Regions from separate parts of the Homo sapiens genome. Here all the other regions are linked to region 1. Evidence: promoter capture Hi-C in 16 types of primary human blood cells and fetal thymus (Javierre and others, 2016). All regions are on one chromosome and are shown on one strand. Each heading gives the region's core, a stretch centred on a gene start or on the middle of the fragment in contact. The rest is flanking DNA. Distances are from core to core; before and after follow the strand shown.

Region 1 (5,081 bases), core at 866-3,365:
GCAACACTTTTTTACTCATGCCCACTTGGTGCCAAACGTTATGCTAAGGGACAGAGATGACCAAACAGTACTGTTGTTCTGAAGGAGCTTGGGTCTGGAAGAAAAGGAACCCCTTAAGTACTTACAAGTCCATTCAGCAGATGTTAGATGGCAGTTTCTACAAGGTGCAATGCAGGGGCATGGAGAAAGAAAATAGAAAATCTGCCTGGGGCGATCAGGAAAGGCAACACTGATGAGAAGCAAGGAATGACTAGAAAGGGGTAAAGAGGGGAGAGGCTGAGAGAAGGATGCTGCAGGCAGAAGGAACAGCCTGGGCAAAGGCATGGTAATAGCATCATTGGGCACACAGCATCATTGGGAAATGCAAATTGAGTCATTCAGCTCCGAAGGAGCATAATATATACTGTGGGGAAAGCTGGGAATGGGGCTATGGAGGCAGGGAAGCTCTGACTTGATCCTGTAGGCAGTGGAGAATTGCCAAATTCAGATTTTGAACAGGACTATGATACCTTTGGAGGGGGTGGCATGAGACCGGGAGATCAGGGGGCCTTTGGAGAGAGGAAGACTGAACTAGAAAGCGAGGTTCCACATAAGCACACTGGAGGCTTATTTAAGGAGGCAGAATTCACAGAGCTTGGTAATGCCTAGATGTGGGCGGTGAGGGAGAGGGGGCAGCAGGAAAGGAATCCCCCGTTTCTGACCTTGGAGGGCTGGGTAAAAAGGCAACATAGGAGGGGCAGGTTTGGGGGCAAGGACAAAGAATTGGGGATAAATTGAGCCCCTCTCTTGCAAATAGCAAGGATTGCGTACCAAATAAGCGAAAGGATAAGATGAGGGCCCTAGGGACCCTTCCTGAGGAGGCAGCTGATCTGTACAGGGGACCGGGGACCCACCCCCATTCCCAGCCCCTCACCGTGGTGGCCTGTGAGGCCCCCAGAGTGAGTTCCTTCAGCAGGTCTCGGGTACTGAAGCCCTCCTCCACCATCACAAAGTCCGATTCACTCAGGTAGCCAGCCATGCCTTGCAGGAGGAGCTGACGGGCTGGATGGAGCCGCTGCTGCAGCCGCCGCCTTAGAAAGTATGCAACACACTGCGGGGCGAGGGGAGATGAAGGGAACCGCTGGGGGGCCGGCTCTGCTGCCCCACTCGCCTCCCGAGGCCAGGGATCCCAATCCCGTCACAACCCGCCCCCAGCACAAGCCCGGGGTTCACTGGGCAAGGGTGGAGAAAGTCAAGAATCCCGGATTTCAGACGGAGACAAGGCACCGTATGCCCAAATGTCACTGCCTCTCCGAGTCAGTTGCTCCCTCTGTAAAATGGATGAATTGTTTTGGAGAGCCTTCCCAGTTCTGAAATTCTGGATTTCAGGAAAGAGTGAGAGAGAGATGGAACAGAAAATCTGAGAAACTTGGGTGGGGAAGTTTCCAGGGCGCCCCCAGTCTTGACCACGCCCACCTAGAGGGTAGCCGGTGGCCACATCAAGGCGTCTCAGCCTAAGAGCAAGAGCTTAAGTTCGAGTCCGCTCTCTACTGCTTGACCTCGGGTACCCTCTGACCCTTTCGGAGCCGCAGTTTCCCCAATTGTAAATGGGGGCTGGACTGATCCTGAGGTGCTAGAATTCTAGGCGTGCCTGGGGACGCCACGCGGTGGGTGGGGGCCGCAAGCTCCTGGGAGAGAACGGAAGGCCGAGGTTTTTTCTGTCCGAGTGACTCCTACAGAGTGCAGGGCTGAGGTCCCCCCAACCCCCAGGGCCCCTTACCAAACTCCGTCCTCCTTCGCGGGGGCCAGAGCCAGGCGCGCTGCTAGGGGGGGTCGCCGGTGACCTCGAAACTTGTGCAACACCCCGAGGAGGAGTGGCAGTTGCGGAGCCGAGGCCTCTGCTGACAGGAGGCAGAAGGGGCAGGGAGGCAGGTCAGCACCAGGGCGGAGGGCGTCCGCTCCCCGAGGCTCCCCAGGCCACTTTCCGCACTCGCCTTAAAACGCATTTACACGGCTTCGGCCCATAGGTCTCCCCAGGGAGTGAATCGGATCCTCGGCGCCTCCGCTCTCTCGCTTCCCCGGGCTCGGGTCCCGCGGCCTGCGCCCCGCCAGCCCAGCAGCCACAGACCCCCACGCCCCGCCTTCCGCCCGCCGCTGGCTTATATAACCCCGCCCAGGCCCCGCCCATAGTGCCGAGGCCCTACCTCCGCTTGGCCGTAGCCCTGGCAACCGGGTGCCGCCATCCCATTGGTCGATTCCGACATAAAGCATTCAGCTCTGCTCGCCCTTACTGTAGTCTTCTCCCCCGGAGGCCTGGCGGTGGCTACCTCACGCTGGAAGTCAGAACTACAGGGCCGCCGCCACGCAGGTGAGACACTTAGACCCTGCATCTTAGGTCTTAGAGAGTGGGCAGGACCAGGAAGCCTTTTCTGCCTCTGCCTCAACTTACTTCGTGGTCCAGCTCTTGTCTGCGTCAGGAACTGCTCACTCATCTCTCGAAACCCGGTTCCAATGACATGTCCTTGTATTACTTTTGTAATAAAATTCTTTTTATTTAATTGCCTCTTCCAGGCATCTTCCCCGACTCCAACTCAAAACGCATCTAAAATGTCTTCAGAGAACCTTTTTGTGACTTTCCCAGTTCAGGGCAATCCCTCCCTTTATCCCATCCTGTGAACCCGGCAAACTCTTACTCATCTCTCAATAGAAATGTGTCTCCTTCTCCAAGAAGCTTTCCCGGACTTCCTCAACTCAAAGCATTTCTTCTATACCGAAAGCTGCTGCTCACCCATCAAAGTCCTGTATAATGTCACCTCTGTTGAACCTTCCATGACTTGCCTGGCCCCAAGGAACACAGCATTTAGTCTGTCTGGACCCCTCACTCATTTGGTTCTTGTTACCCATAGCGTGAGATTCCTGTTGTTATTTTACACTTCTTGTTTGGTTACACTTTGCATCTAGTTTGTGATTTCCCAAGGGCAAGGACTGAATACCCTGCTCAAGAGCCTGGTGCCTGGCATAGACAAGAATGCTGAGGAAGATTCAATAGCTGTGTTACTCAAAAGCTGATATAAAAGTTCATCTGGAAAAGTAAGTGTACAAGAACAGTCAAGACACTCTTTTTGCCCAGGCTGGAGTGCAATGGCACGATCTCAGCTCACTGCAACCTCTGCCTCCTGGGTTCAAGCGATTCTCCTGCCTCAGCCTCCCAAGTAACTGGGATTATAGGCGCATGCCACCACGCACAGCTAATTTTGTATTTTCAGTAGAGATGGGGTTTCACCATATTGGCCAGGGTGGTCTTGAACTCCTGACCTCCAGTAATCTACCCGCCCCGGCCTCCCAAAGTGCTGGGATTATAGGCGTGAGCCACCGCGCCCGGCCAAAACTACAGTCTTTAAAACAGTATGGTGCTGGAGCAGGAAGAGACAGTGGTAAAACAGAACAGGGTCTACAACAGTCCCATATACATTGGAGATTGGTACACAATGGAGGCAGCATTTCAAATCAATGAAGCCAAAGGGCTTTTGGTCTACCATATGTCTTCATGTCCCCTGCTAGGCTGTGGGCTTTTTTTTTTTTTTTTCTCTTTTGAGACAAGATCTGGCTCTGTCACCCAGGCTGGAGTGCAGTGACATGACCTCAGCTCACTGCAACCTCCACCTCCCAGGCTCAAGTGATCCTCCAACCTCGGCCTCCCAAGTAGCTGGGACTACAAGTGCATGCTACCATACCTTGCTGATTTTTGTATTTTTTGTAGAGACAGGGTTTCGCCCTGTTGCCCAGGCTAGTCTCAAACTCCTGAGCTCTAGCAATCTGCCTGCCTCAGCCTCCCAAAGTGCTGGGATTACAGGCGTGAGCCACCATGCCCAGTGGGCTGTAGACTTTTTTTTAAATCAGAGGCACTTCTTGTCCCGCCTTAGTATCTCCCTAGGACACTGCACAACCTAGTTAGAACATGCTCAGTACACAAATGGTGTGGGGCAGGGACCAGAAGCAGGAGAGCCATTTTCTGCTCCCTACCCAGCTGGGACATATAATTGCTGGGTGTCCTTGGCTGAGTCACCCTAACTGGATCTGGGTCACTTCTGCCTGGCTTGATTTCCCCCTGTGAACTGAGAGGTTTCAGACTGATTTCTCTGGGCCCTTCTGCCTGGAACCATCTTGTTTTCTATGCATAGGAGTAGTATTTCAGGAGGCAGCTTTATAGGACAGTCATTTGCAGGACCTTTCTTTGAGATTAATAGTCATTTGCAACATAGTATGAGAACAAGTATCTACCAATCAGGAAGGGTAGATTAGGACGGCCATGGCAGAAACCCTAAAAGATTATACTGAGAGGGCCAGGCGCGGTGGCTCACGCCTGTAATCCTAGCTGAGATGGGAGGATCACGAGGTCAGGAGATCGAGACCATCCTGGCTAACATGGTGAAACCCCATCTCTACTAAAAATACAAAAAAAAATTAGCCAGGTGCGGTGGCGGGAGCCTGTAGTCCCAGCTACTCGGGAGGCTGGGGCAGGAGAATGGCGTGAACCCGGGAGGCGGAGCTTGCGGTGAGCCGAGATCACGCCACCGCACTCCAGCCTGGGTGACAGAGCAAGACTCTGTCTCAAAAAAAAAAAAAAAATTAGACTGAGAGGAGAGGAGCACCCGAATAACTTTGGCTCTACTTTTAGTTAAATCATTCTCTGAGCTGTCTGCATTTGGATGTCATGGTCTGGGTCTGCCCTACCAGCTTTTTTCATCACCTAGTAGGCACATAATAGGTACATTCAATATGTTTACTGAATGAATCAATAGAGGTAAGAAGAAACGAGCCAGAATCCAGTCTGTCCATTTGGAATCTATCAAGAGTAAGTAATCAGAGCAGAAAAATCTGCACCCTGGACTGAGTACAGATAGGCTGTGGCTTTTTCTTTTTTCCCTGCTTGTTATGTGATGTCATTGAAACTCCATGACAACCCTATGTCACAGGAGCCACATTTGTTCTCATTTTACAGATGAGGAATATAAAGCTCAGAAAAGTTCAATAACTTGCCCAGGATCACACAGCAAGTAAAGGTGAAGACTAGATTTAAATACAAGCCAATTCTGACCTTT
Region 2 (5,081 bases), core at 1,607-4,106, 130 kb after region 1:
TCCACCTCCCGGGTTCATGCTATTCTCCTGCCTCAGCCTCCTGAGTAGCTGGGACTACAGGCACCTGCAACCATGCCTGGCTAATTTTTTGTATTTTTAGCAGAGACGGGGTTTTACCGTGTTAGCCAGGATGGTCTCGATCTCCTGACCTCGTGATCCACCCATCTCAGCCTCCCAAAGTGCTGGGATTACAGGCGTGAGCCACCACGCCCGGCCATCTCCAACCATCTTTTGATTTTATTTTCTATTTTTCACTCACATCACTATTTCCTAAGGTATGTTATAGGCATTACTTGAAAGAAAAATGTTTTGTGAGGAAATAAGCTTGGAAAATACTGAGTTAAACAAAATAAAACAAGTTTATGAGTTTCTTAAATCTTTAAACATGCTAATATGCTAATATGTAGTATAAATCTTCAATATAATGTAATTTCCCCAATTTAGATCACCAGGAAACAGGTTTTTGTTTTTTCTGTAGCATCTTTAAGGCTTAACTCAAACTTTCCCTAAACTCCTTTAATAGTTACCATGCTGGCCTGCCTTTGGTTAGTGTCCTTATTTAACCATAAACCTTATGCTCTGAATAGATTGAGAGCTCATGTCTCTAGACTAGGATATCTATATTCCAACCATTTCTACAACTCTGTGTACAAAGTCTTTCAATTAGGCTCTAGAAGAGTGTGGTACATAGATGAATTTTGATGAAAAAGATAAGAAATATGAGCAGCATAGTTCTCAGAGGAAGAATAGAGATGAAAGAGATAAGCAAGAATAGTATAGACAGGTGATCATTCAATTCAACAGACAACTTTTTTTTGAGATGGAGTCTCGCTTTGTCGCCCAGGCTGGAGTGCAGTTGTGCCATCTCAGCTCACTGCAACCTCTGCCTCTCGGGTTCAAGCGATTCTTCTGCCTCAGCCTCCCAAGTATCTGGGATTACAGGCATGTGCCACAATGTCCAGCTAATGTTTGTATTTTTAGTAGAAACAGGGTTTCACCATGTTGGCCAGGCTGGGCTTGAATTCCTGACTTCAAGCGAGCCACCCGCCTCACCCTCCCAAAGTGCTGGGATTACAGGTGTGAGCCACCACACCTGGCTTCAACAGATACTTTCAGAATGATACACTGTTGAACCCTGGGTGAGTACTGGGTATTTCAAAAAGAACTTAGACATGGTTTTCTTGATAGGAAGTTTCACCTGGTAGAGGAGACAGATAATTGATACATAGATAGATAGAAAATTATTCAAATGTCATATGATAAATACTAAAGAAAATACGGGTGCTCTTAGATAGATGAAAGAACAATAGAATTTGCATGATGGTTTCAAGAAAGACTTCACAGAGGAGCAGGCATGGTGGTGTGCACCTGTGGTCCCAGCTGCTTAGGAGGCTGAGGTGGGAGGATTAGTTGAGCCCAGGAGTTCGAGACCAGCCTGGGTAATAGCAAGACCCCATACCTGGGAAATGACTAGAGATCAACCTGAAAACGTGGACTGGATTCAGGTTGATAGGCCTGTGTAAGCCATGGAAATAAGTTTTGGGTTGAAGCACTTTTTTTCTTTTTTCTTTTTCTTTGAAGGATTTTAAGCAAAAGAGTAACCTTCCAGAATGGAATTTGGATGGAGTGGGGAATAGGGAGAGCAGATAAGGAGGCTCTTGGAGTTGTCTAGCCTAGAGATGGGTCTTAAATAGGGCAGGAAAAATGAAGATGTTAAGGGTACAGTTCATTGTGACAAGTTGGCGCATGTCTACCACCCTGATGCCTACTAGGGGTCTATTTGTAAATGGGTAGCCTAGTTATGTTACATGACTTGGGGATGGAAAGTACAGACATAATATAGGAACACATTTCTTTAACCACTGAAGTCTATTGGAGCATAATCAAATTTATACTAATGGAAATCTCTTTCCAGGGCTGAAGCTAAGTAATGCTGTGGTCTAGCTTGTCACTTTATGAAGTTTCTGAAGATTTAGGAAATTAATAAAATGAGTAAAAGTTGTATGAACTTAAGCAGCAGGGGCTGGGGTGGGCGGTCTGTAGTCTTTTTCTTTTTTATTATTTTTTATTTTTTTGAGATAGGGTTTAACTCTGTAACTCTGTTGCCCGTGCTGGAGTGCAGTGGTGCAATTTCAGCTCACTAGAACCTCAACCTCCCAGGCTCAGGTGATCCTCCCACCTCAGCCTCCTAAGTAGCTGGGACTGCAGGCATGTGCCACCACACGCCACCGCGCCCCACCACACTCGGCTAATTTTTGTTGTTGTTGTTATTTGAAGAGAGAGTCTCACTCTGTCACCCAGGCTGGAGTGCAGTGGTGCAATCTCGGCTCACAGCAACCTCTGCCTCCTGGATTCAAGTGATTCTCCTGCCTCAGCCTCCCGAGTAGCTGGGAGTAGCTGGGACTACAAGTGCACGCCACCATGCCCAGCTAATTTTTTTGTATTTTTAGTAGAGAGGGGTTTTGTCAGGTTGGCCAGGCTGGTCTCGAACTCCTGACCTCAGGTGATCCACCCACCTCAGCCTCCCAAAGTGCTGGGATTACAGGCATGAGCCACCATGCCCGGCCTAATTTTTGTGTCTTTCGTAGAGATGGGATTTCACCATGTTGCCCTGGCTGGTCTTGAACTCTTGGGTTCAAGTGATCCTCCTGCCTTTGCCTGACAAAGTTCTGGGGTTATGGGCATGAGCCACTGCACCCAGCTGTGTCTGTATTCTTCACAGCATGTAATTTTCTACACCTTTCTTTTAGCTTCTGATTAGCAAGCCTGACTGATTGGTTAAGCTAAAAGAGCAGAGTAGGAGAGATGCACCAGCATGGGACGTGGAAGAGAAGGAACAAAGTGGACAGGGCAGATTGGGTTTCAAGGATGAGGTATTTTCTTTTCTTTTTTTTTTTTTTTTGAGACAGGGTTTAGCTCTGTCTCCCAGGCTGGAGTGCAGTGGCACGATCTTGGCTCACTGCAGCCTCCACCTCCCGGGCTGTAGCCGTCCTCCCACCTCAGCCTCCTGAGTAGCTGGGACTACAGGCATGCACTACAGGCATGCACCACCACGCCTAGCTAATTTTTGTATTTTTTTTTTTTGTAGAGATGGGGTTTTGCCATGTTGCCCAGACTGGTCTCGAACTCCTGAGCTCAAGCAATCCACCCACCTTGGCTTCCCAAAGTGCTGGGATTACAGGTGTGATCCACCATGCCCAGGCGAGGTTTTTTTTTTCCAACTATTCGGGAAGAAGATTACCGTATTCAGAACTTAGGGGTTTACCACTAAAGTGGGTTTATATGAAATTTTAGGATTAGGTTATAGTACCTGGCATATAATAAGCCAATAGATACATGGATACATTGAAAAGATTGCTTTAGAGCAGAGTGATGGCCTAGGAGAAGACCTAGAATGTCCTAGGGAAGGTCAAACAACCAAAACAAGAGAGGGTCTCTGTCATTCATGCAACACAGGTATTTTGAGCATGAACCAGTATACTAGACTGAGATTAAAAAGTGGATGATATGTCTCCTTAAGTCCAGTGTGGTTTGGAAGGCAAGCATATAAACAGTTAGTTACATTATAATGTAAGTGTTATAAAATAATTGTGCACACCCACGAAGTAGGCAACGAGCTGCCTAGAGAGGTTAAGTATATTTTACAGAGAAAATGACACCTGAGTTGGTTCTTAAATGGGTACTTGTCAGGGCAAGAAGTAAGGACAAGACATTTCTAGGTAGAAGGAATAGAGTATGTAAAAGCCAGAAAGTAGGACAGAGTGTACGATGTTTTTACGCCATATATCTTTGAGGACAAGGTCTCACATGCAGTTTTAGAACGTGTTTAGCTACGTTTGAATGTGACAAGTACCTATACCTCCATTTGGTGGAATAGAAGCTAAGGTTTGGAGATTGTTTTTTTTTTTTTTTGAGATGGAATTCCTCTTTTGTTGCCCAGGCTGGAGTGCAGTGGTGTGGTCTTGGCTCACTGCAACCTCCGCCTCCCAGTTTCAAGCAATTCTCCTGCCTCAGCCTCCCGAGTAGCTGGATTACAGGCATGCGCCACCATGCCTGGCTAATTTTTGTATTTTTAGTTGAGACGGGATTTCACCATGTTGGCCAGGCTGGTCTTGAACTCCTGACCTCAGGTGATCCACCTGCCTCGGCCTCCCAGAGTGCTGGGATTACAGGCGTGAGTGACTGCACCAGGCCGGTTTGGAGATTTTAATAGCTTCATGTCATGCAGCATGAGTCAGAGGCAAGAGCTCAGACCAGGTACCCAAAAACAGGAATGCCAAATCTCGTGCCCTGAGTAATTCTGTGTCGTAGTAATAGATTGCTGTGGATTCATGAGTAATTTGGGGTTATTTTACTTCCTTGGCACCAAATTACACACTCAAAATTGACATTGTTGATCCTATCCAATGTTCTTCTTTTTCAAGAAAAAAAAAAAAGTGGGCTGGGCACGGTGGCTCACACTTGTAATCCCAGCACTTTGGGAGGCTGAGGCAGGAGGATCACTTGAAGGCCAGGAGTTCGAGACCAGCCTGGCCAACATGGTGAAACCCCATCTCTACTAAAAATACAAAAAATGTAGCTGGGCATGGTGGCGGGCGCCTGTAAGCCCAGCTACTTGGGAGGCTGAGGCAGGAGAATCGCTTGAACCCAGGAGGCAGAGGTTGCAGTAAGCCGAGAGCACGCCATTGCACTCCAGCCTGGGCAACAAGAGTGAAACTCCGTCTCAAAAAAAAAAAAAAAAAAAAAAAAGAAGTGGGGGCTGGGGGAATGTTAATAAACATTTACTTCTGCCATGTGAGGTAGGAATGGATGATGAAGTGTTCAAGGCTCCCTACTGGATGTCCACTTAATTTGTATCTTTAGAAGTTGACTTAGTGCTTTTCTGAGGTCATCCAGTAACTTTCCCATTTAATGCAAAATAACAAGCTAGTCACTGTCTTGAGGAGACACGTTGTTTATCTTTAGTAGTTATTTTGCAGCTAGGTGGGGTAAATTTGCCCAGAACTCCTACAGGATATGAATCATTTGCATTCATAGACTGACCTGTTCTCACTTTGTTCTTTCTGAAAAGAGTTTTAATA
Region 3 (5,081 bases), core at 1,217-3,716, 100 kb before region 1:
TTAGTAGAGATGGGGGTTTCACCATGTTGGCCAGGCTGGTCTCAAACTCCTGACCTCAGGTGATCCTCCTGCCTTAGCCTCCCAAAATGCTGGGATTACAGGAGTGAGCCACTGGACCCAGCCACAACTTTGTTTTATGTGTGTTTCTGCTTAGAGACCCTTATTTAATATATAAATTGTTGATTCACTAGCACTGAACTCACAGCCAACACTACTGTAACTCATGTCTGAACAAAGCTTATCAAGCACACGTATTTTCTCCTTAAGGCACATCACAGCCTTCTTGTGCTTGAGAACACCAGAGAGCACTTCAGCACAATGCTTGGGGCCATTTTAAATAGCAAAATCACCAACAAAAAGGCACAAAAAATGAGAACGGTTCGCACCAAATAAGTCACAAAAAGAATACTTGTTTACACTATGACAGCTGAGACAAGAAGGCAGGGTGTCCCTTTGTTCACCTTCAGCTGGGAACATATGTGTGGGTAAGTCAAGATTTTCACCACTGCACATAAGTATGTCCACAAATAATAGCAATTGTGCCTCAAGTATTGATTTGAAGGTTACAAATAAATTTTAGAAGTAGGTGATTTTGCAAATATGGAATCCATAAATAATGAGGATCAATTTTCTTTATTTTTTCTGATTACAAAAATATATATAATAAACAGAGCTATCTAATGTAAAAGTTAAAGTCCCCCATAATCCCAGCCCACAAAAGAACACAATTAGAATATAGTTCTATAGAATTTTTGTTATGCAAATAATGCCTGTGATTGTGTCTAAGTCTGTGGGTGTCTATGTGTCAGTGTATTTGGGTCTTTCTTTTCTTTTTCTCACTCAACAATAGCTCTTGGATAGCTTTCCAGAAAAAAAAATTCCTGATGTTAATTTCTGGAGTATGAATGGAAGCAGATGGCATACACTGCAGTCAGGATCTCTAAGTCTTAGTTCAGACCACTCAACCACATCAGATGTGGAGAGAGCAATGACTTGCCAAATGTAAAGATAATCAACAGTTTTAGTGTTCTGCATCTTAATGGAGATGGAATAAGGTCAAGAGAAGAACTGCTCAGAGGATAAAAGGACTGAACACTGGGAAGTAAAGTGAAAGAGAAGAGACTGGGTCGGGCACGGTGGCTCACACCTATAATCCCAGCACTCTGGGAGGCCAAGGCAGGCAGATCACTTGAGGTCAGGAGTTTGAGACCAGCCTGGCCAACATGGTGAAACCCCCTCTCTACTAAAAATACAAAAATTAGCTTGGCGTGGTGGCGGGCACCTGTAATCCCAGCTACTCGGGAGGCTGAAGCACAAGAATTGCTTGAGGCTGGGAGGTGGAGGTTGCAGTGAGCCAAGATTGCACCACTTCACTCCAGCCTGGGCAACAGAGCAAGACTCCATCTCAAAAGAAAAAAAAAAGAGTCTGTGACTTTCAGCCAGAGAAAACCACATACTATGTCCTTTGGAGGAGATTAGACCTACATATTAAGACTATCTACTGAAAGGATTTAGACAATAGAGTAAAATAGTACCAGAGCCTCTTCTAAAAACAGCTGCAAAATTGGCTGGGCGCAGTGGCTCATGCCTGTATTCCCAGCACTTTGGGAGGCAGAGGCGGTTGGATGACCTGAGGTCAGGAGTTTGAGACCAGCCTGACCAATATGGTGAAACCCTGTCTTTACTAAAAATACAAAAATTAGCCAGGCATGGTGGTATGCGCCTGTAGTCCCAGCTACTAGGGAGGCTGAGATAGGAGAATCACTTGGACCTGGGAGGCAGAGGTTGCAGTGAGCCAAGATCATGCCACTGTGCTCCAGCCAGGGTGACAGAGCGAGACTCCATCTCAAATAAATAAATAATAAAAACAGCTGCAAAATAGTATGGAGAAAGCTGGGCTGCTGCAACAAAAGACCCAAAATACAATGGCTCTTAGAAAATAAGTTTACTTCTCACTCTGTAGTCCATGTCAGGGTGGCTGTACTTCATGCAGTCATTCAGGAACCCAGGATCCTCCCATATCTTTGCTCCATCAGCCCTTTTGAAGCATTATTGAAGCTGTGTCCCTGGTACATCTATGTTCCAACTCAAGAGAAGAGAAAATGGAGCATGGGAGAGCAAAAGCTTCATGCCTTAAGGTCTATTTCTATTTATGTTCTATTAGAAAGATTTTAGTCACCAAGTCTCACTCGGCTGCAAGAACAGCTGGGATGTATGATCTCTAGTGGACCAGCCATTCCTCCGACTGCTACTCTACTACATAGAAGAACAGGAGGATGAAGTTTAGTGGACAGCTAGCAATTTCCATCACATCTCCTTTATTTGAGCCTTGGTATCTTCCTCTATAAAACGGGGATAATAATATAAACTAGTTAAGGCTGCTTTGGGACTGAAATCCAATAATATATGTGAGAATGCTTAGCAAGCCCTACTGTGCCTGATAAGAATTTCTCATTGATTTTGCCCTCTAGACTGCCAGCTCCTTGGGAGCAAGGAGCATAGTTTATTCCACCTCCTCACAAAGACCTGCTTGGAGTCAGCATCAGTAAATACATGTTGAATAATGAAGTCACTGTTTCATCCATCATCAAGCCTTTTTTTTTTTCATTTCATTTCAAATGCTTCAATAATTTAGACTCTGCCCTGTTCACTTTCCCCACCCCCTCATTAGGGGTGCACGTCAGTATATCAGTTGGGATTCTCTGGGTTGCAAAGTGACAATGCACTACTGTTAAACTGGCTTATGCAATAAGATGGACCATCTCACATATCCTGAAGTCCAGACTCTGCATCAGAATAAAAGCTTCTCTTCCCTAGGACTCTCTTGGCCTTGCCCTCCCTTCTGTATTTGCTGCATCCTCAGACTGGGAGCAAGATGGCTGTTGCAATTCCAAGCATTGCCACCAAACATATCCCAGCAAAGGGGGCAGACTGTTTTGCAAAGTAAAGAGACCATTTCCTGAAAACCCCTCTCTGCCATAGGCTTCCCCTTTAGTTTTTCAGGCTGGACCTGCCCAAACCGTCACTGGCAAGAGGAATGAGACCACCATAATGGACTTGGACCAAACAAGACTCACTCCATGAGACCACCATAATGGACTTGGACCAAACAAGACTCACTCCTGGAAATGGGCTGGGGTCAGCCTTCCTTGGGTCACTTGGGGAAGGGGGCCACCTGACCAAAATCAGGGCTCTGCCCATAAGAAAATGTTGAGAAACTGCTGTTGCATGAGCAACCAACTATTTTTCTCGCAATGATGGAGATTCTGGGCCAGATGAGGGTGTGATGGAGAAAGTGTTAACCATAGAGAACTAAACTGAGAGCTTTTTCATAAACTGTACCTCAATAAAGTTTAACACCAATGAAGATATTTCTGGAGGAGGCAGAAACTGGTAGCCACCCTCTATGGCTCATTTCCCTCACCCCCGTATCCAACCATCACCAAATGTCACCGTGTCTGTACTTGCAATACCCTAGTCTTCTCTCCTTACCCACTGCTGAGGCCCCAGTTCGGGTCTCACCTCCTGCAGGCACGATGACAACAGCACCTTAGGGGTGCCCAGTCTTTCCTTCCTCCTGCAACCCAGGGCGTTGATGCGGTTATTCAGCTACACACCTTTACTGTGTGCTGAGTGCTGTGCATCCGCAGACACATTGGAAAAGCTCCCTGTCTTCTTCACCTTGCAGATGGTATAATGATTATCTCCAAGACTTCCTGAAACCCAATCGGACCAGGTCATTCCCTTGCCTGAAAGCCCCATGCCTTCAAGAAATTCTTTACCATGACCCACAATGCCCTCCAGCCCACCCAGGCTCCTTCTCCACCCCACCCCCAACAGTACAGAATTACTAGCACTTCCTTCACTGCGCCCTCCCCTTTCACGCCTCTATGCTTTTGCACAGGCTGTCTCCTCTGCCTAGAAATCCCTTATCCCCTCTCCATCTGGCACACAAGACAAGTTCTCCTATTACTTTTTCTCCCTCTCTCCTGCTCCACCCCTCACCGCCTTACACACACACACACACACACACACACACACACACAAATACAGCACTCCAGAATTGTTTGCCAATGGAGGCAGCCTCCGGGGCCAGATGTTAGCCAGGGCTTTCCAAACTTCTCCCCAAGCACTCCTTAAGAAAGTGAAGAGGAAATGGGACCCCAGGGCTTAGGAGTGTGAGGGCCTTGAACTCGCTCTAAGCAAGCAGGGCATTTCAAGAGTTTTATCTTTATATTTTATGCAGAAGTTGTATTCCAAATATATTCTTGTTCGTTTTAATACAAAATATGATTTTTTCTACATCTTCAAATCGATGATCCAGAAAGATGCTCCTTGTTTATTTGTTGTGCTCTCAAATTAGCTGCTCCGCCTCGCCGCGGGGACCCTAAGCGAGACCTGGATGCAGTTCCAAGTACACACCCCGAAGGAACAGCTGGGCTTCGCTTCCCTGGGAGCTGGAGGATGGTGGGGGTGGGGCGGGGTCAACCGGCTGGTGGCCCCGCCCCTCCCCCGCCCGCTGCGGGGGCGGAGTTGCTTGGGTCCCGCCCACGGGGGCGGGGAGGCAGCCGCGGCCACCGGCAGCTCGGATTCGGCTGGTTCCGGGTTGAGAGGCTGCGCTGGACCGAAGCGGTGGCTGCTAAGCTCGCGGGGGTAAGGGGTCGCGCTGGGCCAGGGTTTGGGGCCGGGATCCGGCAGCTGAGCGGGCCGGCACCCCTCCTCTTCTCTGCCGGTCACAGCCAATGTACGGCTCGGCCTGGCTGCCCCCTCCCCCAGGATTCCCCATCCCCAGCTTCTCGCCCTCCCCGCACCGCCCCCACCCCGGGATTTCGACCCCCTTAAGGGCTCCACCCCGCTCCGGGATCCCCTTCTCCCAGCTCCTATCCCTTAGGACTGCCCCGCCCCCTAGAACCTCCCCGTCAGGATCTCCGTCCCTCAGCCGCTCACAGCCTCCTCCCAGCGCCCATCGCCTTGAGCTGCCCACTACCTCTAGACTGCCCTCCCGGGCTGGCGTCCCACGGAGTCTCAGCCGCGCACCCCTTCCTCGCGTTACCCTCCTTCCGGACAGCACCCCCTCCCTT

What was found. The method cuts DNA at HindIII sites, captures the fragments that hold promoters and counts their contacts. A CHiCAGO score of 5 or more calls a contact.
Region 2: a fragment that was not itself captured here is called in contact with the fragment with the promoter of AZIN2 in region 1 in 12 of 17 cell types (activated CD4 T cells, naive B cells, total CD4 T cells and 9 more); the score reaches 9.4 in activated CD4 T cells.
Region 3: a contact is called between a fragment that was not itself captured here and the fragment with the promoter of AZIN2 in region 1, in 1 of 17 cell types (naive CD4 T cells). The highest score is 6.2, in naive CD4 T cells.

What each region holds. Positions count from the first base shown.
Region 1 is chr1:33,078,187-33,083,267 of GRCh38, reverse strand. AZIN2 (antizyme inhibitor 2) reads right to left here and starts at 2,115. Exons shown (of 12, transcript NM_052998.4): 1 at 1,974-2,115; 2 at 1,760-1,880; 3 at 1,456-1,667; 4 at 914-1,090. The coding sequence starts at 1,018. LOC105378635 (a long non-coding RNA gene) reads left to right here and starts at 2,272. Exons shown (of 3, transcript XR_947163.2): 1 at 2,272-2,347; 2 at 2,941-3,069; 3 at 4,982-5,081. RefSeq lists a silencer at 1,894-2,153. The HindIII fragment of the contact is 16,354 bases long and covers 1-2,712 here.
Region 2 is chr1:32,953,570-32,958,650 of GRCh38, reverse strand. All of the region lies in intron 1 of RNF19B (ring finger protein 19B), which reads left to right. Among named protein-coding and RNA genes, the nearest start is that of RNF19B, 8.7 kb to the left of the region's middle. The HindIII fragment of the contact is 5,060 bases long and covers 327-5,081 here.
Region 3 is chr1:33,181,566-33,186,646 of GRCh38, reverse strand. It overlaps TRIM62 (tripartite motif containing 62), which reads left to right and starts at 4,604. Exons shown (of 5, transcript NM_018207.3): 1 at 4,604-5,081. It also overlaps a transcript of ZNF362 not described here. RefSeq lists silencers at 4,430-4,739, 4,970-5,039. The HindIII fragment of the contact is 679 bases long and covers 2,127-2,805 here.